Linked DNA regions of Homo sapiens: all the other regions are linked to region 4. Evidence: promoter capture Hi-C in 16 types of primary human blood cells and fetal thymus (Javierre and others, 2016). All regions are on one chromosome and are shown on one strand. The core of a region is centred on a gene start or on the middle of the fragment in contact, and the rest is flanking DNA. Distances in the headings are between cores, read along the strand shown. Region 1 has its middle 1.9 kb from the start of PCGF1. Region 2 overlaps TTC31 (tetratricopeptide repeat domain 31). Region 3 overlaps M1AP (meiosis 1 associated protein). Region 4 holds the start of STAMBP (STAM binding protein). Region 5 overlaps LOXL3 (lysyl oxidase like 3). Region 6 overlaps M1AP (meiosis 1 associated protein). Region 7 overlaps HTRA2 (HtrA serine peptidase 2).

Region 1 (3,112 bases), core at 588-3,087, 680 kb after region 4:
GACGACCCTGCTGAAGAAGCCCCTCCTGGGTCCTCTCCTCGTAATGCCGCCCTGTCGGCGTCCGCGTAGCGGAGCTTCGTCCAGATGGCGGGTCTTCTCCCGGCTTCACGGAGGGAGTTTCTTGGGCTTTGCAGAGTCTCGGAGAGGGTGCCGGGGGATGGGGAGTGAGAGACCCCCAGGGACTTGGTAGTGATCTTATTCCCCCATTCTCCCCCCTGCTGCCGGGGATGGGGGGGGCAGGCCCTGGTTAATGATGATGATTTAATCATCGGCGCCTGCGGAGGCCTGGGACAGACTAATGCAGAGCAGATGCCGAAGGAGGAGGGGAGGACGACTAGGACACTGCCACACACAGACAGGCTTAGGCAGCGAGCGCCTGTAGTAGCATAGGCCCAGTCCCGCACTTGGGGACTACGCGGGGTGCTCGCTCGAGAGCTCTACACCGCCGGCTCTGGGTACTTAAAAAGGGATAAATTTGCTATGAGGTATTAACATCAAATGCAACTGGAGATACGAGAAGGGAGAGATTCCAATGGAGACCTCAAAAAAGGCTTTCTGGAGAAAGTGGGACTTTGGGCACAATTTAGACTTGGGGGAGGGGGTGGAAGTGTGGTGAAATAGAAAGGACGTGGAGGGGAATGACCAGAGGACAGGAAGGTCAAGATGTAGATTTGAGAGTGGTAATAGAAAAAGCAGGGCCATAAAGAGTTGCGATTTTTAGCCTGAGGGCAATTGGGAGCTAGCGGACTTTTTTGAAGGGAGGTTATCCTGTGAAAGCGACATTTTTGTTCATTTCTCTTCAGAGTGAATTGAAGTGAATATGCAGCAAGAAGTTATGAGATTAGTGATTAATCAATTATTCGTTACAGCCCCTGTTTACCTACTTCCCTGGTCCGAGCCACTATCATCTGTCCTCTGTAGTGGCCTCTTGACTGTTTTCCTTGAGTCCCCCTTCGCCTGTTCTCAACATCACAGTTGAGTGCTGTTTCTCAGAGCTAGTGATTCTGATAAAACATGAAACACAAAGGACAAAGGACAATTTTTGAGATGTGGATATGTTTATTATTTTTATGGTGATGATGGTATCATGGGTATATACATATGTCAAAACTTATCAAATTGTACACTTCAAATATTTGCAGTTTATATGTCCATTATACTTCAAGAAAGCTATTAAAAATAAAGTTGAAAAATTAGGTTGTTCCTTTTTTACGTTTAAAACCTGTTGAGAGCTTCCCTTTTCAATCAGAATGAAAGTCAAAGTCTCAGAGTGGTGTGCAAGGGCCTGCATAGTCTCTTCAGATACACCAGGATATCCTTCCACTGTGTCCCCAACTTGAAATGCTTAGGTATCCAAAATGGCTCCCTCCTTCTTTCAGGTCTTTACTCATGAGGCTGCTGTAATCACTCTAGATGAATAACAACTCACCCACCCTTTCACTTCCTTGCTCTTTTTTTTCTGGTTAGCACTTATTAGCATTCTATCATTTATTATTATTTAATATACATTTCTAATATATATTATATTTTCTAGTTATTTTCAGAAAATATTTTCTAGAAAACATATTTCCTAGTTTTTCATCTGCCTTTTCCACTAGACTATAAGCTTCTCAGTGGCAAGGATTTTTTTTCCTCTGTTGTGTTCACAGATATAGCTCCAGTGCCAGGTGCATAGTTGGTGTTCAATAAAACTTTTCTGGATGAATACATGAATGAATCCAAGTGGTGGTGATGACAGCCTCGATTAGGGTTTTAGCAATGGCAATGGAAAGGAAGGGCTGTATCTGAAACAGTTCAAAGGAAAGTATAATAGGAGGAAGTAGCCAGGAACCTGGCTTGGTAGGCCTGGGTAAGAGGGTGAATGAAGAGCTTTGGAGGGAAGCATGTCCTCCAGCCTGCTGGACTTAAGGTGGCTGCAGGGAAGCAGGGGGAGCTTGTCAGAAGGCTAGGAGAGTGAGCGGTGGGGCTGGAGTGTCAGAACAAGGGATGGAGGTCTCAGAGTTATCTGGCTGGATATGAGAGTTGGGACTTTTGGAATGGGTGAAACTTGAGCAGATGAAGAGATAAAGAAAGCTTAAGGCCTGGTGCAGTGGCTAATGCCTGTAATTCCAGCACTTTGGGAGGCTGAGGCAGGTGGATACTTGAGCCCAGGAGTTGGAGACCAGCCTGGGCAACATGGTGGGACTCCGTCACTACAAAAAGTACAAAAATTAGCCTGGCATGGTGGCGCATACCTGTAGTCCCAGCTACTTGGGAGGCTGAGTTAGGAAGATTGCTCGAGCCTGGGAGGTTGAGGCAGCAGTGAACCGTGATAATGCTACTGCACTCCAGCCTGAGCGACAGAGTGAGATCCCATGTCTTAAAAAAAAAAAAAAAAGAAAAGAAAAAAGAAAGCTTAAGTCTGAGCTCTGAAGAATCCTCACAGTCTTCAGTGGAAGAAGGAAAATCAGTGGAGGAAAAACATAAGCAGTGACTACGAAAGTCCAAAGATGTGGAATAAGATATTACAGAAGCAAAAAGAAGGGACACTTCAAAAAATAATTGATGACCAACAAAGTAAAACATGCCAGGGAAGTCCTGGAGGAGGGATACTGAACACTGGAGCTCTCTGAGAAAGGGTTACTATAATGAAGGCAGCTTGCACTGAGTTAAAACAAGAATAAATCATGATGAAATGGAGGCAGTAGGCATGAAGTAAAAAGGAAAGGAAAAGCATGATCTCTCTTGAAGACTCAGGCAAAGATTTTGTCCAGATGATAAAGATCTGAGACAGCTGAGGGGTAGGAAAGACTAAGTTGATGAGAGCCACGGACACACAGGACATGGTGAGACAGATCCAAAGCAGTGTGTATGAGGGGGCACTCATTCCAGCACCTCTATCTTCGTCTTTTTTTTTTTTTTTTTTTTTTGAGATGGAGTCTCGCTTTGTCACCCAGGCTAGAGTGCAGTGGCGCGATCTCGGCTCACTGCCAGCTCCGCCTCCCGGGTTCACGCCATTCTCCTGCCTCAGCATCCCGAGTAGCTGGGACTACGGGTGCCCGCCACCAAGCCCGGCTAATTTTTTGTAGTTTTAGTAGACACGGGGTTTCACCGTGTCAGCCAGGATGGTCTC
Region 2 (2,707 bases), core at 114-2,613, 660 kb after region 4:
AGCAATAGAAAGCAATCAATAACAAGTTTCTAAATTGTGTAACACAGATAATGTGGTTGCAGGTTAGTTGGAGGAGGCAGAGATAATTGGAGATGAAAGGGTCTGGGAAGGCTTTGAAGGGAGATAGAATTTGAACTGGACCTTGAAGGTGAGGCAAGATGTGAGAAAGAAGCTCAAGAGTTAGGAGGGATTGGAGAGCAGCTGGGGGAAGGCCCCAAGGCTGGAGGGAGCCTGGTGGTGGGAGGGAGGACAGCAGTGAAGCAGGGGAGGATTAAAAGGAGGGCTGGAAAGGTCAGCCTGGGAGCCTTTTGGAAGGCTCTGAATCGTAGGCTGAGGAATTAGGTTCAACTCTGCCTATGGCCTTGGCAGTGGGGGATTATTGGATGTCCCTGAGTAGGGAAGTAATTTCTTAGAGCTTAGTTTTGTGGAGAAACAGATGAGGTGCAGAGGAGCGGCCAGCCAGGAGCTGCTGTACTTGTTTAGGTGTGAGCTAGCCTCAGGGTGGGTTATGTGGAGCTGTTCATACTGCAGATATGACAGGGGGCCTAGCTGGAAGAGCAGGTGGGAGGGCTTCATTCCAGGGGCCTCAGTGTGGCTAACTCAGGTTGAGGAGAGAAGATCCTGGATGGTAGAGGAGGCCAGGTTGAATACCATACTCAACCCTTGGGAAGGCAGGAAAGCAGCGAGGGGAGGTGATTCACTACAATAGCTGGGGGCAGCAGATTTTGCGGTGCTGAGGAGGGAGAGGTCAGAGCCAGTGAGAGTCTCTGGGCTGGATAGCTGGTTGGTGGCTGCCATGGTGGAGAGATCAAGCCAGCGAAGCCCTTGCTCTCTCCAGGAACTGCCCCCAACACCAGCCTCCCCTCCCCTCCCCTCCCCTCCCAGGACATAGTGGATTTTCTTCGACGGCTTGTGGAGAGTGATCCCCAGGGCCTGCACCGGATCCATGTGGATGGGAGCAGCGGGCGGCTGCAGCTGTGGCACCATGGTGGGGAGTGCAGGGACCGGGCCCAGGGATCGAGGCTGGTACCCTGGGAGGGCTGACCCTCAGATGCACCCCGCTCTCATGTCCTTTCTTTCCTGTCTCTTTCTCCCTCCTGACAGATTACCTCCTGGGCCACTTGGATGATGAAGGGAAATCAACTGGACAGAGTGACAGGGGCAAGGGGGCTGAGGGACTGGGCACCTACTGTGGTCTCCGCAAGTCCTTCCTGTATCCTCCCCAAGAGTCTGAGCCCTGCCCTCAAAGCCCCTCTGCCTCTGCCACCTTCCCCAGTGTCTCAGACAGCCTGCTTCAGGTGGCCATGCCCCAGAAGCTCCTGGTGACAGAAGAGGTGAGATTCTCAGGAGAGGGCTTTGCCGTCCCCCAGGGTTCTTTCAATCCCTGTATCCCCATCCCTATATTCTCCCCTAATTGGTACCTTTCAAGATCCTTCTATACTGCCTGCCCCCTTTCATGTTTGCTCTCCATTTCCCTGTTTCTCTCTTTTTCTGTCACCTGCCCTTCGTCCTTCAGGAAGCCAATCGCCTGGCTGAGGAGCTGGTGGCTGAGGAGGAGCGCATGAAACAGAAAGCAGAGAAAAAGCGACTCAAGAAGAAGGTGGCTAGAGCATGGCTGGAGGGTGCAGGGGAGCCAAAGGGATTTGGGAGAGGGAAAGAGGAAACTTTGTGGGAACAGGAGAGAGCTCAAGATGGCCTGCAGTGGACTCTCTTGCCAGGAGGACACAAGGGGCCCAGGGACTGGGGGGTCTCTCACAGGCCATCTGGTGCAGTGGTTCTGGAATCCTACTGTGCTGCCTAGGTAGGAATCTGCCTCCTTACATGAGGCCTCTTGCTGGTGCCTCTCTTGTCTGCTTTTTCACCTGCAAAATGAGGATAATAATGATGCCTGTCTCATAGAGCTGCAAAGATGGAATGCGAAATCTTAGCCCAGCACACGACATACAGTAAGTGTTCAAAATACATCATTGTTACCATTACTATTGCAGCGTCAAAAGGAACGGAAGCGACAGGAGCGTTTGGAGCAGTACTGTGGGGAGCCCAAGGTGAGTATCTAGGGCAGGTACTAAGAGCACCAAGTGCCAGGAAGGTGAGGGCCAAGAAAGCAGGCAGCTCAAGGTGATCCCAACTCTGTACCTGTCTATCTTTCTTCCAGGCCAGCACTACCTCAGATGGAGATGAGAGCCCCCCATCCAGCCCTGGAAACCCAGTTCAGGGACAGTGTGGTGAAGAAGAGGTGAGAGCCCCTTTTTTCCCTTCTTGGTCTCTGCTCATTTTCCTCCTCCTCCTCCAGAATGTACTTCATCCCCACCCCCTCCCTAACTTTCCATTTTGTTCACAGGACTCACTGGATCTATCTAGCACTTTTGTGTCTCTGGCTTTGCGCAAGGTTGGGGATTGGCCCCTCAGTGCCCGCAGAGAGAAGGGACTGAACCAGGAGCCCCAAGGCAGGGGTCTGGCCCTCCAGAAGATGGGTCAAGAGGAAGAGAGCCCTCCAAGAGAGGAGAGGCCCCAGCAGAGTCCAAAGGTACAGGTGAGGTGGCTGAAGAACCTTATTCAGCTGGAACCGTGGAAGGGGCACAAGGAGCTGCTGGGGAGGCACAGGGTCTAAGGATTGACACAGGGTCCAGTGGGAGTTCTCTGGCTCTAGGGTCAAGAGACCTACAGTCAGGCCCCATCACTGTCACCATGACCCCGGGTGGTTTCC
Region 3 (2,791 bases), core at 103-2,602, 740 kb after region 4:
CCAAAAAGAGAAGTAAGAAAGGGGGGAATTTCTATTCTGGGCCTAAATTTGACCAAAGCCTAGGAATTGGTTAGTAAAGTGGGGAAGCGATAGAAAAGGCACTATGTCAATCTGGAGTTTGGGTAGTCAAATTATATCTGAGACTTTAATCTCAAACATAGGATCCTATATTTAAAAACCTATTTGAAATATGTTTTTCTCCAAAAAGAAACAGCATACAAATGTCTAATGACAAGTGGAAGAAACTAGAGAGCTCCCATTCAAGAAGTACCATTTGAGTTTGGTCTTTCAGGATAGGGTAGGATTTGAACACACAGAGATGAGAGAAAGGTCAACATGAGCAAAGGCTCAAAGGTGGAAAAATTTAAGGTTTCTGTATTAATTTGGTTGGAGTGTATGGTACATGAAGGGGAATAATGGGAGATAAGGTGGGACCTTGAATATTAGGCTAAGGAATATGGACTTTATGGATAAACAATAGTAAGCCACAAAGTATTTTTCAGCTGAGTAGTGGCAGAATCAGTGCTGAATCAGATTAATCAAAAGATTAATCTGTTGGCATTATGTGAAATGGACTAGGAATGGGAAGCACTAAAAAAGCATTGAGACAAGTTGAGAGATTATTGCAGTATTAAAGGAAAGGTTAAAAGGGCTTGAATTAGGATAGTGATAACAGATGCTATAGGGATAGAATAGGCAAGGTGTAATACGTGATTGAGTATTGATACATAGAAAAACATGTGATAGGGGAATGCTTCAAGGAGATTAAGCTAGTGCCAATGTGCAGGGAAAACCAGAAGAGAGAGAGATTGGAGGCAGGGAAGCCAGTTAGGAGTTTACTGAAGAAGTCTTGGTGAGACAAGCAGTGGGAACAGGAAGTAAAGGAGAGTTACAACTCATGTTATGAGTGGAAAATTGATATGACTTAGTGATGGAGTAGGTGTAAAGGGTGAGATGGCTGAAAGTGACTGAGGTTTCAAGCCTGGGTGACTAGACAATGGCGGTGCTGCTATTAACAGAAAGGCAGAAGTTAGAATGAGAAGTTGGCTGGAGGGGAACATTACAGTGAAAAACAGAAGGCAAGAGAGTTAAATATGGAGCTGACTTGAAATCAGATTTTAAAAGAACATATGAAAAAGGTATATGAAAGAATAAAAAACCAAAGATGGAGTTAAAGAAGCATGGCAAACTTGTAAAAATAGGCTTAGGAGGTTAAAACCCTAAATAAGTCTCGTCACACTTAAAAATATTTGTGTTGAATTAATGAGCTGAAGTTTGTGAAAAGTTTGTACTCTATAACATACTGCCATTCAGGATTTTTGCTGCTTGGAGAAAATGTCATGTGAAAAACAAGAAGGAAGAGGCATTTAAACACTGTTTTGCGGCCAGGCACGGTGGCTCACACCTGTAATCCCAACACTTTGGGAGGCTGAGGTGGGCAGATCAACTGAGGTTGGGAGTTTGCGACCAGCCTGACCAACATGGAGAAACCCCGTCTCTACTAAAAATAAAAAATTAGCCAGATGTGGTGGTGCATGCCTGTAATCCCAGCTACTCGGGAGGCTGAGGCAGGAAAATTGTTTGAACCCAGGAGGTGGAGGTTGTGATGAGCCAAGATTGTGCCATTGCACTCCAGGCCTGGGCAACAAGAGCGAAACTCCGTCTCAAAAAAAAAAAAAAAAAGAAAGAAAACTGTTTTGCTGCTGTCTTTTCCAGAATAGGAGAGTGGTCTTTAATCTAGATGAGGTGGACCAAACGGAGTAAAGAGAACAGCAGTACAAGATGAGTAAGCCGTTGTTATGAGTACTGTGCCATTTTAAGTGAGTTCAACTCCGCTGAAGTACAGAAGCATAGGGTGTAAGTGAAGGAGAATTAGCTTCAGTGTTATAGTCTGTATTTATCTGGCTACATCCAGAGTAGGGAATTTAGCAAAGAAGTTAAAAACATGGGCTTTGTAGTCAACAGAACTAGGTTCAAATTCTTTTTAAATTTTCTTTCTTTCCCACCCCCCCTAAGCAGTGTCTCCCTCTGTCGCCCAGAGTGCAGTGGTGCGATCATGGGTCACTGCAGCCTTGAACTCCTGGGCTCAGGCAAGCCTTCCACCTCAGACTCCCGAGTAGCTGGGACTACAGGTGTGAGTCATTGCTCCTGGCTAATTTCTTAATTTTTAATAGAGACAGGGTCTCACTCTGTTTCTCAGGCTAGTCTTGAATTCCTGGGCACAAGTGATCCTTCTGCCTTGGCCTCCTAAAGTGTTGGGATTACATGTGTGAGCTAGGTCCTCAAACTCTGACAAGACTACTTTGGTAGCTGTGTGACCTTAGGTAACTTACTTGGTCTTTTTAGGCCTCAGCCTCCTCCATCTGCAAAAGTTGGGATAACAATCTCTACTTCAGATTATTGTGAGGATTAAATGAGGTAAAGTATGCAAAACACTTGGTTAAGTGACTACCACTTAGTAAATGCTCCAAAATATGGGTATCTACTAGTGACAGGTCAACTACATCCCTGCCCTTTTCCAAGACAGAAGACTAACAAAGAAAAGGTCTCTTCATCTCTACAACAGTGCTTGGCATACAGTGGTGAGTAAATATTTGATAAATAAATAGACAGATAGATAAATACAGATCCTCAAACCCTGAGTTTAGTGGCAGGGAGACTCTAATCTCGTGTATGTAAGCCAGGATGGAAGGGAATACTTTTTCCCATCCTTATTATTACTATTTTTTTTTTGAGACAGAGTCTCACACTGTTGCCCAGGCTGGAGTGCAGTGGCACGATTTCGGCTCAC
Region 4 (2,913 bases), core at 116-2,615:
GCATCTCCAGTGCATCAATTTCTTTAGGCCCAACCCATCATGTTTACATTCTGAAGAGAGTCAGTAGAGAGAGTTTTGAAGACACAGTAGAGTGCCCTATACAATTATCTTCCCAGATTTATCTGCAGTAGATCCATGAGAGTTGATAGTAGACCCATGCACATTAATGCTTGCTGGGGGCAGAAGGGGAGGTGATATGATGCAAGCAAGTACTTTCAACCCTAAGTCTGAAAAGTTGATGACTACACAAAATCACTTCAGGTAACTCCAACAGAAATATACACAACGGAGGTTGGGAGAAATGAGAGATCTGGAGGCTGGCTAGGTGGAGGAGGCAACACCTGAATTAGGGATTTAAGCTAGACCTTGAAGAATAGGTCATGCCATCACACTAACAAACTCACAGGGAGGCTCCCAAATTTTGGGAAAGTGTCCCCCAGAGACTTAGACTTTTAAACCAAAGCCTAATGTTTCACAAAGTCTTCTGAGACAGAATGATTAGCAAGCTTGTAGGACCTTTTTGTAAAGAGGATGTATATGGATTCGTACAGACACACATCTACATGCAGAACGTGCCATTCTGTATTTGATGCATAAAACCACCTTGTCCCGGTCTCAGGGCAGGAACAGTGTCATACAGATTTTTGTGTCTCCACTGCTTTTGCATAGCGGCTCTTAGAGATTAAACGCTTTTTTTCCAAATATTTTATAGGTTTTTTGACATTAAAACGTTAGTCTCATCTGGGTGCGGTGGCACACGCCAGTAATCCCAGTACTTTGGGAGGCAGAGGCAAGAAGATCGCTTGAGCCCTGAAGTTGGAGACCACAGTGAGCTATGATCACACCACTGCACTCCTGTGACAGCCTGGGTGACACCGCAAGACCCTGTCTTAAAAAAAAAAAAAGTTAGACTTATGTTCTTTTCTAAGCAATAAAATTAGTCTTAGATATTGCCTAATATCTAAGACTACCAATTTTTGTGTAGAATGTAATACAAGCTAAAAAATACATTCGAAAGACTTTCTGTCCCCCAATTTATAAATCCTGGTTAGTTTAGCTAAGTCTGCAGTTGTGCTGGGATCAGCAATCCCTCCTTAAATGCAGGAGTATTGTGAGTGTGATGAGGGACTACCCCAAATCAAAATAATTTTAAAAGCAAACCTTAGCTTGCTAATTGGTTCCACTTTCTTCCTTGTTCCTTTTCCTTTACCAAGATGGCCGCTGTGTCGTTCGCTCCTCATTGGTCGGATTTTCCGCAGGTGCCGATTCTAGCCCCACCTACTAGCTCTCCGTTCCAAGTCCTAAATCACTGGGAATGTAATAGACAGACGAACGGGAGTGGGCGGAGCGGGCGCCGGATGTGACGTTTCCGGAACCTCCGGGTGTCATCCGCGGGGAAAGGTGGGGAAGGGTCCCGGGAACGTGGTGGGGCAGGGCCTCCGAGCGTGGTTGGACTTTGAAGGGGATCGGCCGCCGTGAGTGTGGGGCCTGCAGCCTACTCTCCCCGAGTCCCCTGCCCGGCCTGCCTCGCTCGAGGCACCCGACGGCTTCTGTCTCCGCGGGCTGGCGCCTGACCAGCCAGGCCCAGCGGTTCCCCGCCTACTGCATTTGAAAGATCCCGAAAACCCTGGATGATTGTGCCTGGGGTTGGCAAGTTCGTCTTGAGTGCCTTCAAGAAGGGTTCCTCAAGCAGTTGTCGATAGAGCCCTCCCTACTGTATACGCCCCCTCCGCTCATTCCTGCTACTTCCTTTCTCCTCCTCGTATTTCCCCCTCGGTCCTTTACGCCGCCTTTCCCCCTCATTTGCAGATGCTGCATCCCCTTTTTGGAATTGCTCAACCAGGTGGTAACCGGCGCCGCTTCCTGGCCTTGGGAGGTGGTTCCTTTCTTAACCCACAAGAACCTCTCCCAAGAGGTACTGAGATGCAACAAGCATCCTCTGTTTCAGTTAACTTTCATGGGCCGTGGACTAGGTTTACTAATTACTTGGGGAGGTTTTAGATATGCTTGCGGCTTTCTGAGTCCCTAAGGAGGCCTCGTGAGAGATGGACTATCTCTGCATCCCTAGTAGTCCTCACGGCTTTTGTGCTATTAGTGAGGGTGTTTTAGAGGGGAAGGTTTGTGGAGGAATTGTGACCCGAATATTGAAGAGACCTAAAGATGGAATTGGCTGAGAGAAGACTACCCCTGAGGGAAGAGTTGTAGTAGAAAAGAAAAACTGGATAGATAAATGAAACTGAAATGTGAGGATGCCTGGGCGGATTGGAATCCTGACTGAAGCAAAAGATCTCTGTTGGGGAGGGCCAGTTGCCACAGGGCCTTGAATTCCAAGATTTATTCTACTGTAGTTTGTGTATTCTAGAGCATACTGATTAGGGTTTGCTGTAATGCAATGTGTGTCAAATGCCCAGTTTTATTTTGGAGATGATAGTGGTGATATCTGGTTGGAATTTGGAATCTGATTCTAACAGCAACTATATCTAGAAAGACTAGAATTACTGGAGTTTTGGGACACCAGGGGTTTTTGCAATGCAAGTTACCATCGTGCCTTTTTGTTATTCAGTGTTTAGTCTATGAAGATGAGTAAATGGTTGTTTTCAAGATTTAAGTCTCTTGCCATGATAATGATGAATGAATGATTTTATAGATTGACTATAGTGGTTTAGTGAGCAGAGTTACAATTATGAGCATTAATTCCCAGACCAGTTCCCCTAACTCACCTTGTGCTCAAATATGAAAAAGGATACCACAGAAAATGTCAGTTACTCTCAGATTAAGTAAAAATGGTCAACCTTGAAGTTAGTTAACAATCCTCAAGAAAGTTCACTGAGTGCACTCTGCCAGGTACTGGGGTGGAGGTATGTGGGTATCTGGAAGGAGAAATAATAGAAAATAAAAGATGCTGTTCCCACT
Region 5 (2,922 bases), core at 79-2,578, 720 kb after region 4:
TTTTTTTTGAAACGAAGTCTTGCCCTGTTGCCTAGGCTGAAATGCAGTGGCATGATCTCAGCTCACTGCAACCTCTGTCTCCCAGGTTCAAGCAATTCTCCTGCCTTAGCCTCCCAAGTAGCTGGGGCTACAAGCATGTGCCACCATACCTGGCTAATTTTTGTATTTGTAGTAGAGACAGGGTTTCAACCATGTTGGCCAGGCTGGTCTCGAACTCCTGACCTCAGGTGATCCACCCACCTCAGCCTCCCAAAGTGCTGGGATTATAGGCGTGAGCCACTGAGCCCGGCCTGAACCCTGTGGAGTATCACTGGCTTCCTCTCAGAATTGGGCGCAGCCTCAAAGGTCATCTGTCCTAGCCAATGTTCAAGGACATCTCATTCACATCCCAACAGGACTTACCCAGTTGTTGCGGAGACACCTAGCTCCTGCCCCACCAGACTGTGTAACCATCAAAGTCCTTGTGACTCTTCATGACTTTCCCCTACCACATCTGATTCATTCCTTTGGTGCCAACCAGAAAAATCCTTCAGCCACACGACTGTCCTTCCCATATTTAAAAACAACCATTACGCCATTGCTATGCAAGGTTTTTACTTTCCATATCAATCCCCTGATTCTTCAGCAATTCCTCCTTGAAACTTGGCTTCTGAATCTTTCACATCTAGGCAGCTCTCCTCTGAAAGTATTTCCATTTTCTACTGTCCCTCTTAAAACACAGCATCTACAAATGACACTTAATTCCACAGGTGGTCTAGCCAGTGGGAACTGGGGAATCAGCTGCAGGTTGCACCTGCTTCTGTCCATCATTCCCACTGTGGGTTCATACCATGGGCACAGTCCTAGGCCTCACCTAGGGAACTGCTCTTAAGCCTCCACCACCCACACTCATACTTGTCCTAGATTTTATACTTGTCCTTAGACAGTACCACCTTGTTAGTTTTAGCTCTGGCCCATAACCTGATTTTGTTAGCTGCAGTGTCTGTGACCCCTTGTGACTTTGGGACATCCAGATATCATTTACCTGCTCTTAGCGTCCCATGAGACTAACTGTACTTTATTTGTACAGGGCTCACCTGTATCTGGGCTGTTTTGTGGATGGCTTTGTAGGATCATACTTTTGCAGCAGAAAAGAACTTAGACATCATCTAGTCATTTTGCATACAGGGCATCTGAGGCTCAGAGAAAGCACTGACTAGCCTAAGGTCACACAGCTCTGGGAAGTAACTATGTTGCTTGGTTTGTCATCCATGGATTTACTCAATGCTGGCTGTTCTTGGTGTCGTGTGTCCCTATGGCTGTGCCATCCTCGTGTTCCCTTTCCCTGCACTTTGGCCACACATAGGAAATATCTAGGATATGCCTGGATCATTGCTCACCTGTTCCAGGGCCATATTTGGCACTGTGGGTCCAGCCTGTGGCCTCTGTGAAGCCCAGCTCCCGGCAGAGGATGTGGGCAGCCTGCAGCGTGAAGTCATCATCGCAGATGGTGCCCCATTCACCAGCTCGCTGTATCTCCACGCGGCCCTCGTAGGGCTTCCTGGGGAAGCCAGCCAGCCGGAACCGAAGCCCCTGGCTCCCGGCCTTCTTCTCAGGGCCCGTGGAAGGGGACGGAGACCCCAAGCACGAACTGCACAGCAGGCACAGCAGCAGCCCCCAGGGGCTCCACTGCCAGACACTGACAGGTCGCATGGCAGGGAAGGCCTGGGTGCCCCAGAGACAAAGTGTGCGTGAGAGAAACAGATTGAGTGGGGCCCAGAGTCAGAAAGAGAGGGAGAAGTCACGAAAGAAAAACAGACACTGAGTAAGACAGAGACAGCGAGAGACAACAGGAGAGAAAGAGCCCCAGGGACCAAGAGACAGGGAGAGAAACACATTAAATAAGGGCTGAGGCACAGGTCATAGAGGCACAGCCTGAGAGACCCAGAGATAAGAGACAACTATGAGAGATCGAGAGTCAGAGAAGGGTCAATAAAAAGAGATAGAGACTGAGCAAGAGACACGTAGAGAGAGAGGAAGACCCAGACAGACAGGATGTGAGAGGAAGGGAGACTGTGGGAATGAGAGAGAGAAAACCAGAAAGACACAGAGGAGAGAGACAACGGATAGAAAGTGATAGGCAAAGAACTAAGCACTCAGTATAGGGGAACCAAGCACACCGCGGGTGAGAAGGAGAGGGATTGACAAGAGCCAAGGGGCGGACGTGGGAGGGATCCAGATGACCCCATTTACTCAGAGGGAGGACAGACAGCTGTACTGATTGTGCAGAGAGGCACGTAAGGGGCCCTAGGCGGCCCTGGGATCACAGATCCCCTGAATGGGAGCCCAGAGTCCTAACCCAGCAGATTCCCAGGCAGGGAAGGCTGGCACCAAAGCTCGCCTGGAGAACCTGCTGCACGCCCTCCCCAACACGCAGGCTCTCAGATGCCCTGCAGGGTCAAGAGGCCCAGGAGGGCCAGGCCTCAAGGCTGGGCGGGGGATGGGGTAGGGTTGTCCCAGCCTCCTGCCAACACCACCATCCCTGTCACCGGGCAACGGGAGGCCAGGCGCTATGGCTCCTCAGCCAAGGCCTTCTCTGCCTAGGGCTGAGAACAGCCCCTCTACAGCAAGCCCCCGTCAACATGCTTCCCCCAACCCAAACAATCAATCCAACAAGGCAGCTTTGTTCTGGGTTGGGGACCCAGGGGCAGCGCCTCCCGGAGGAGCCCCCTCCCTTAGGGCGCTCCTGGCGGCCCTGTTCGAACACCCGTAGCCCCCGCCTCCGGTATGTGCCTCCTCCGTGTACTCTGTCTCACTTGCCCTTTGACAAGAATCAAACTCTCAGTTGGGTGGCTTCCCCTCGACTCCATCCCACACCACCCGTTTTCCCTGGTCCCTCCACATCCTCTCCATCCCCTACTCATTCCCTCTGCGGTTAGCGTG
Region 6 (2,976 bases), core at 21-2,520, 760 kb after region 4:
GCTAATATAGTCTAAGGCAGGCTGAAAAAAATAATTGACTGTTAACTAAAGAACTAATGGTTCACAATGGATGATTTATATTATGGGTGTCCAATCTTTTGGCTTCCCTGGGCCACATTGGAAGAATTGTCTTGGGCCACACATAAAATGCATCAACACTGATGATAGCTGATGAGCTTAAAAACAAATCTTATAATGTTTTAAGAAAGTTTACGAATTTTTGTTGGGTTGCATTCAAAGCCGTCCTGGGCTGCATGCAGCCTGCGGGAAGCAGGTTGGACAAACTTGATTTACATAATTTCTGACTAGGGAATAGTGGGTTCTATTTGGGCTGCTATCACAAAATACCACAAACCAGTGGCTTATAAGCAACAGAAATATATTTCTCACCGTTTTGGAGGCTGGGAAGTCCAAGATCAAGGTGCTGGCAGATTCAATGTCTGGGGAGGACCTGTTTTTGGTTGATAAATGGCCCCTTCTCACTGTATCCTCATATGGTGGAGGGGGCAGACAAGCTCCTTAGGGAACATTTTATAAAAGCACTAATCCCATTCAGGAGGATTCTGCCCTCCCTCATGACCTAATCCACCATTCAAAGGCCCCACCTCCTAATACTATCTATTTGGTGATTAGATTTCAAAGATGAATTTTAGGGGGGGCGGGGGCGGGATACAACATTCAGACCATAGCAGACTCCCTTAGCTCTAAGATAGGTCCCAAATACTACAATTTCAAATGTAGTATTTCAGCCTTTAGTAAACAGATGAATTGGGTAAGAAAAAGTTTAGAGAGCAATTATTTTGGCTGGGAGAGTAGCCTTTTTATAATCTTTTTCTTAGGCTTGTGTGTTTCTAAGAGGGCAGAAGTGGGGACTGCCCTATGAGAGAAGCTGCACTGCACCCCTCACCTCTGGAGCCACGGAAGTGTTCCCGGATTGCCAATCCCACTTTGAACTGAGTGACTTGCTCTGCCCTAGACAGTCCAGAGAGAAGTTATTGCAGGTACGGGAGAGAAGGGCCCTGGTTAAGGCAGGGTATACCTGCCTCTGGCACCAGTTGTAGCACCTTATCTACCTCTGTACCCACAGCACTAGCGCAGTGTTTACATACAACAGGGGCTCAGTAAACGTTATATTGAACAGAAGAAACTAGCCAGCCTGGTGCTTACTTTCTCTGTGACCTTAGGCCAGTCACTTCATCTCTTTAAGCTCAATTTCTCCATTTGTAAAGTGGGAATGATAGTGATACCTAGGCTAAGGGTTTACTTGAAAATGAAATAATGACACTTGACTCCTGAAAGCAATTTGTGGACTTTAAAGCACCATGCAACTATAAGGGATGATAGAGTATAAAGCCGCCTCCCAGCTGTCTATGTAGTAGATATGAACATTTTATTCACTAAAAGCCAGTGCCATTTCTTTTGCTGAAAATTTTCTCTTCAATAAAGATCTAAGTTGTAAGAAAATATATTTTATCTATGGGTCTCAATGGCTTCATTTTCATTTTATTGGAAAAATGCAGCTTATATGCAAAAGAGATTGATCACTATTGATTGAAATATTCCAAAGTCTGAAGTATTTTTTGACGTGAGAAACATTAGACTTAGAAGGTATTTTAAAAGTCTTCTTTTTCTACAGGGACTAATACATATATTCTATAAACCAAAAAGCATTTAATGTAAATTGCAATGCAAAATTGAAAAGCTGGGAAGAAATATTGTCATAGGCACTGTGGTGGGGGAGGGAGCAGGGGAATGGGTTATTTAGGAGAAGTTTGAATTAAGAAGAAAGCAGAGTTAGGAAGGCGTTAAATCTTTTGACATGACCCAAGAACCACACCAAGCAGTTTTGACTCCTTACACCTAAGGGAACTGAAAGAAAGAGCTGCCTTGAGGTGAAAATAAATGTAAGTGGAGCCATGAAAGAAAAGACTTACTTGGGGGAGCTAAGTAGAGTAAGGAAAAGCTAAAGAAGACGCTCAAATCAAAGAAAGTCCTAAGACATACTCTTTTATTTTTTTGAGACAGAGTCTCACTCTGTCCTCTAGGATGGAGTGCAGTGGTGTGATCTCAACTCACTGCAACCTACATCTCCCAGGTTCAAGTGATTGTCCTGCCTCAGCCTTCTGAGTAGCTGGGATTACAGGCGCCCACCACCACGCCTGGCTAACTTTTTATTTTATTTTATTTTATTTTTTTTCAGTAGAGAAGGGGTTTCACTATGTTGGCCAGGCTGGTCTCGAACTACTGACCTAAGTGATCCACCCACCTCGGCCTCCCAAAGTGCTGGGATTACAGGCATAAGTCACTGAGCCCAGACCTAAGACATATTCTTAAAAAAATCCTAGATAGACTGTATAATAGCTTTGCAACCGACTCTGTGTATATACATGCATTTTTGTAGATCTGGGGGTGTATCTTCAGGGTATTAGATTCCTAGAAGTGGGGCTGGTGACTTCTAGGGATAGAAGTAAAACACATAGGTAATTTTGTGTTTAAAAATAAACACATGCCACTTCTATTGGTGTCATACTTTTTAACTTTTGCCAATCTAATAATAGGTAGGAAATAATATTTTGGTATAGTCTTAATTATCATTTCTCTAATTATGGGTGAGGTTGAACATATTTTCACATGTTTAAGGACCATTTAAAAATCTTTTTTTGAATTATGTGTTTATGACTTTTTTCCATTTTTCTCTAGTGTTTTTGGTCTTTTTCTTACTCCTCAGTTTTAAAGTGTTCTTTATATATTAGAGATATTAGTCTTTTTTTTCTCCCATGGCATAAATTGCAAATACTTTCTCCTGGTTTTTCAGTTGTCTTTTGACATTGTTTATGGTACTTTTTGCCATGCCAAAGATTTTTATTTTCATATAGTTAAATAAATAAATCTTTCTTTATTGTACCTGGATTTTGAGTCATAGTTAGATGACCTTTATCTATGCTGAGATTGTAAAGAAATTCACCAATGTTTTCT
Region 7 (3,058 bases), core at 262-2,761, 700 kb after region 4:
TGCACTGCAGAACACGATCACATCCGGCATTGTTAGCTCTGCTCAGCGTCCAGCCAGAGACCTGGGACTCCCCCAAACCAATGTGGAATACATTCAAACTGATGCAGCTATTGATGTGCGTCCTGATAGGAGAGAAATGACAAATGATGGGGGAGGGGGGAGAGGCTGTGTGGTACAAGCACCAACTGATATATGGTGGATGAGCCTATATAGAGCTTAGGCTGCAAAAATGTGGCCACTTATTCATGGGCTGAGAAAGAAGAGAATTTGGAGAAAGTACCTACATCCTGGTATGCCCCCAGACTTAGAATCCCCAGATCTCTTTCATGTTTTCTCCTTGTCCTACAGTTTGGAAACTCTGGAGGTCCCCTGGTTAACCTGGTGAGTGAGACATCCTTCCTTCCAAGAATCCCTGCCCCAGGTCAGTGTGGGAAGGGTAGGTTTCCCCTAATTCAAGGATGTTTGGTCAAGTTTCTGAGCAGTTCTTTGTTGGCTATCTCTCAATATCCAACCAGATCTCCCCAACACTTGCTGGTACTTTTGTTCGGGTGCCCCCATCCCCTACTATTTGTTTAGGCTAGGGAACTGGGGGCTGTATCCCTGCAGGATGGGGAGGTGATTGGAGTGAACACCATGAAGGTCACAGCTGGAATCTCCTTTGCCATCCCTTCTGATCGTCTTCGAGAGTTTCTGCATCGTGGGGAAAAGAAGAGTGAGCCTGCCTTATGGGGAAACGGGTTCCTTTAATGTGGTGGAAATAGGGGAAGGGCATTCAGTGGGACTTCCTGGAGGGTGGTCTACTGGGAGAAGAGGGCAGGGAAGGAAGGATGTAGCTGGGTGGGGCTCATTTGTCCCTCTGTCACAGATTCCTCCTCCGGAATCAGTGGGTCCCAGCGGCGCTACATTGGGGTGATGATGCTGACCCTGAGTCCCAGGTATGAGCTTTAGGGACAGTGACATGTAATGTGACCAGTGTAATCAGAGGGGGGCACCTCTATTGAGCTTTGTTCTCATTTCTGTCTTTATCTAAGATGAACTGTGTCACACTTGAAATAATCACAAGAGCTGTCTCCCTTCATCATCTTGACTTTCTTATCCCACTCCACTTTGTACACCTGTCACCAGATTGATTTCATCCTGTTACTGCTTTGATTTCAAGCCTTCAATCCATTAACTTGGCATTTAAGGGCCATTTTCCATCTGTCTGTAAATCAACTTTCTAGACCTGGCTGTAATACCTTCCTATATGAATACTCAGCCAACCTGATTTCCTACTCCCATGTTTTTTATTTATGCTGTTCTTGTTTTATATGGTTAATATCAGATCCATCCTTTTAGGCTCAACTTAAGTTCTTTCCCCTTAAAGCTTCTCTTAGTATTCTAGAATGACATTAGTGCTATTGATTTAACACTGTTTGTCATTTGGTGCCCTCATGTGGTGTACATCTTTTATGTACATGTTGCACTTTATTGCTAGAAGACAGAAAGTGAGTTGCCATTGTATTTTGTAGTACCTAGCCCATGTCCTGTCCATATATTTATCAATGTGTTGATGAGAGACTTGAGGTGGAACTCAGGATGGGGAGAATGCCTGGGTTTGGCTAATAGGGTGATCTGTGTACTTTCAGCATCCTTGCTGAACTACAGCTTCGAGAACCAAGCTTTCCCGATGTTCAGCATGGTGTACTCATCCATAAAGTCATCCTGGGCTCCCCTGCACACCGGTGAGGGAGAGGCTGCAGTGTGATATGGGGATGGGCAAGGTGTGCATGTGTCCTTGAACTAGGCTTTGTACTCCTTCCTTTCTCTCTGTCCATTTTTCTCTATAGGGCTGGTCTGCGGCCTGGTGATGTGATTTTGGCCATTGGGGAGCAGATGGTACAAAATGCTGAAGATGTTTATGAAGCTGTTCGAACCCAATCCCAGTTGGCAGTGCAGATCCGGCGGGGACGAGAAACACTGACCTTATATGTGACCCCTGAGGTCACAGAATGAATAGATCACCAAGAGTATGAGGCTCCTGCTCTGATTTCCTCCTTGCCTTTCTGGCTGAGGTTCTGAGGGCACCGAGACAGAGGGTTAAATGAACCAGTGGGGGCAGGTCCCTCCAACCACCAGCACTGACTCCTGGGCTCTGAAGAATCACAGAAACACTTTTTATATAAAATAAAATTATACCTAGCAACATATTATAGTAAAAAATGAGGTGGGAGGGCTGGATCTTTTCCCCCACCAAAAGGCTAGAGGTAAAGCTGTATCCCCCTAAACTTAGGGGAGATACTGGAGCTGACCATCCTGACCTCCTATTAAAGAAAATGAGCTGCTGCCATCTTTTGTGGGCAGTTAGTCAGGTGCTGCTCTTTGTGGTGTGGTGGGCTCTGGTCTGTTCTGCTCGGTGCTGGGCCTGGGAGCAAAGATTCCCATGCTTGGCTACAGATACTGACAGCTGGCCTCTGAAGGAGGGTGAAAACTTCTGCTTGACAGTTCCACATCCATAGTGCATGGTCTGATGAGTGCGGTTGCTGACATGGGTTTCTTGGTAAGCTCCTGAGGTAATGGCAGCCTCAGACCCCTGCCATTAGGGGCCAGTGGTGGTTTGCAGAGGGCAGTGGCACTTAGATAATCTGGTTGCTGGTCTGGCCAGGGTAGCGTTCAAACCTCCTGTTGGCCTCTTCACTGAAGGCATCACCTGCAGAGTGGACAGGCAATTTGGGAGGCGCCCTGCACAGAGGGAGGGAGATAGATGCACTGTGGAGAAGGGTGGGTAGAAGTGGAGGGACTGAGAGCTCTACAGGAAGGTGGGAAGATGGAGAAACAAGCTATGGAAAAGAGAATGAACGTCTTTCCCTCCCATCCCCTAATCTTCCTGGGTTGCTCTTCCCATCAAATACCAATGTGGCAGTTGTGCACCCAGATTCTATGTCCATCATATTTGCAGTTACATTTCATTGCATTGTTGGTAAAGTCACTCTCTGCTACTTCAAAGTTTGGGTTGATGACAACCTGTGAGTGAGAAAAAGGCCACTTAACCCAGCGACAATCCTCGAATTCAAAGGTG

What was found. The method cuts DNA at HindIII sites, captures the fragments that hold promoters and counts their contacts. A CHiCAGO score of 5 or more calls a contact.
Region 1: a fragment that was not itself captured here is called in contact with the fragment with the promoter of STAMBP in region 4 in 5 of 17 cell types (fetal thymus, naive CD8 T cells, total CD4 T cells and 2 more); the score reaches 9.2 in fetal thymus.
Region 2: a fragment that was not itself captured here is called in contact with the fragment with the promoter of STAMBP in region 4 in 2 of 17 cell types (non-activated CD4 T cells and total CD8 T cells); the score reaches 6.1 in non-activated CD4 T cells.
Region 3: a contact is called between a fragment that was not itself captured here and the fragment with the promoter of STAMBP in region 4, in 2 of 17 cell types (non-activated CD4 T cells and total B cells). The highest score is 5.5, in non-activated CD4 T cells.
Region 5: a fragment that was not itself captured here is called in contact with the fragment with the promoter of STAMBP in region 4 in 1 of 17 cell types (fetal thymus); the score reaches 7.5 in fetal thymus.
Region 6: a fragment that was not itself captured here is called in contact with the fragment with the promoter of STAMBP in region 4 in 1 of 17 cell types (naive B cells); the score reaches 6.1 in naive B cells.
Region 7: a fragment that was not itself captured here is called in contact with the fragment with the promoter of STAMBP in region 4 in 10 of 17 cell types (fetal thymus, non-activated CD4 T cells, naive CD8 T cells and 7 more); the score reaches 21.1 in fetal thymus.

Annotation. Positions count from the first base shown.
Region 1 is chr2:74,508,037-74,511,148 of GRCh38, forward strand. No RefSeq gene overlaps it. Among named protein-coding and RNA genes, the nearest start is that of PCGF1, 1.9 kb to the left of the region's middle. RefSeq lists an enhancer at 409-468. The HindIII fragment of the contact is 467 bases long and covers 1,605-2,071 here.
Region 2 is chr2:74,489,140-74,491,846 of GRCh38, forward strand. It overlaps TTC31 (tetratricopeptide repeat domain 31), which reads left to right. Exons shown (of 13, transcript NM_022492.6): 3 at 886-988; 4 at 1,105-1,334; 5 at 1,517-1,600; 6 at 1,989-2,045; 7 at 2,156-2,236; 8 at 2,342-2,533. Among named protein-coding and RNA genes, the nearest start is that of TTC31, 7.4 kb to the left of the region's middle. The HindIII fragment of the contact is 4,043 bases long and covers 1-2,707 here.
Region 3 is chr2:74,570,332-74,573,122 of GRCh38, forward strand. The region is part of intron 7 of M1AP (meiosis 1 associated protein); the gene reads right to left. Among named protein-coding and RNA genes, the nearest start is that of DOK1, 17 kb to the left of the region's middle. RefSeq lists enhancers at 816-915, 1,913-2,122. The HindIII fragment of the contact is 5,991 bases long and covers 1-2,791 here.
Region 4 is chr2:73,827,596-73,830,508 of GRCh38, forward strand. STAMBP (STAM binding protein) reads left to right here and starts at 1,366. Exons shown (of 10, transcript NM_213622.4): 1 at 1,366-1,915. LOC105374807 (a long non-coding RNA gene) reads right to left here and starts at 2,803. Exons shown (of 3, transcript XR_940246.3): 1 at 2,721-2,803; 2 at 1,162-1,309. RefSeq lists a silencer at 1,137-1,355 and an enhancer at 2,863-2,913. The HindIII fragment of the contact is 5,447 bases long and covers 505-2,913 here.
Region 5 is chr2:74,550,943-74,553,864 of GRCh38, forward strand. LOXL3 (lysyl oxidase like 3) reads right to left here. Exons shown (of 14, transcript NM_032603.5): 2 at 1,380-1,704. The coding sequence starts at 1,692. It also overlaps a transcript of DOK1 not described here. Among named protein-coding and RNA genes, the nearest start is that of LOXL3, 1.5 kb to the right of the region's middle. RefSeq lists silencers at 1,820-2,114, 2,100-2,394 and an enhancer at 2,100-2,394. The HindIII fragment of the contact is 3,787 bases long and covers 1-2,922 here.
Region 6 is chr2:74,589,786-74,592,761 of GRCh38, forward strand. The region is part of intron 4 of M1AP (meiosis 1 associated protein); the gene reads right to left. Among named protein-coding and RNA genes, the nearest start is that of DOK1, 37 kb to the left of the region's middle. The HindIII fragment of the contact is 4,982 bases long and covers 1-2,976 here.
Region 7 is chr2:74,530,991-74,534,048 of GRCh38, forward strand. It overlaps HTRA2 (HtrA serine peptidase 2), which reads left to right. Exons shown (of 8, transcript NM_013247.5): 3 at 1-115; 4 at 349-381; 5 at 607-712; 6 at 866-935; 7 at 1,629-1,724; 8 at 1,830-2,329. The coding sequence ends at 1,995. LOXL3 (lysyl oxidase like 3) reads right to left here. Exons shown (of 14, transcript NM_032603.5): 13 at 2,892-3,003; 14 at 1,268-2,689. The coding sequence ends at 2,616. Among named protein-coding and RNA genes, the nearest start is that of HTRA2, 2.6 kb to the left of the region's middle. RefSeq lists an enhancer at 1-49. The HindIII fragment of the contact is 295 bases long and covers 1,365-1,659 here.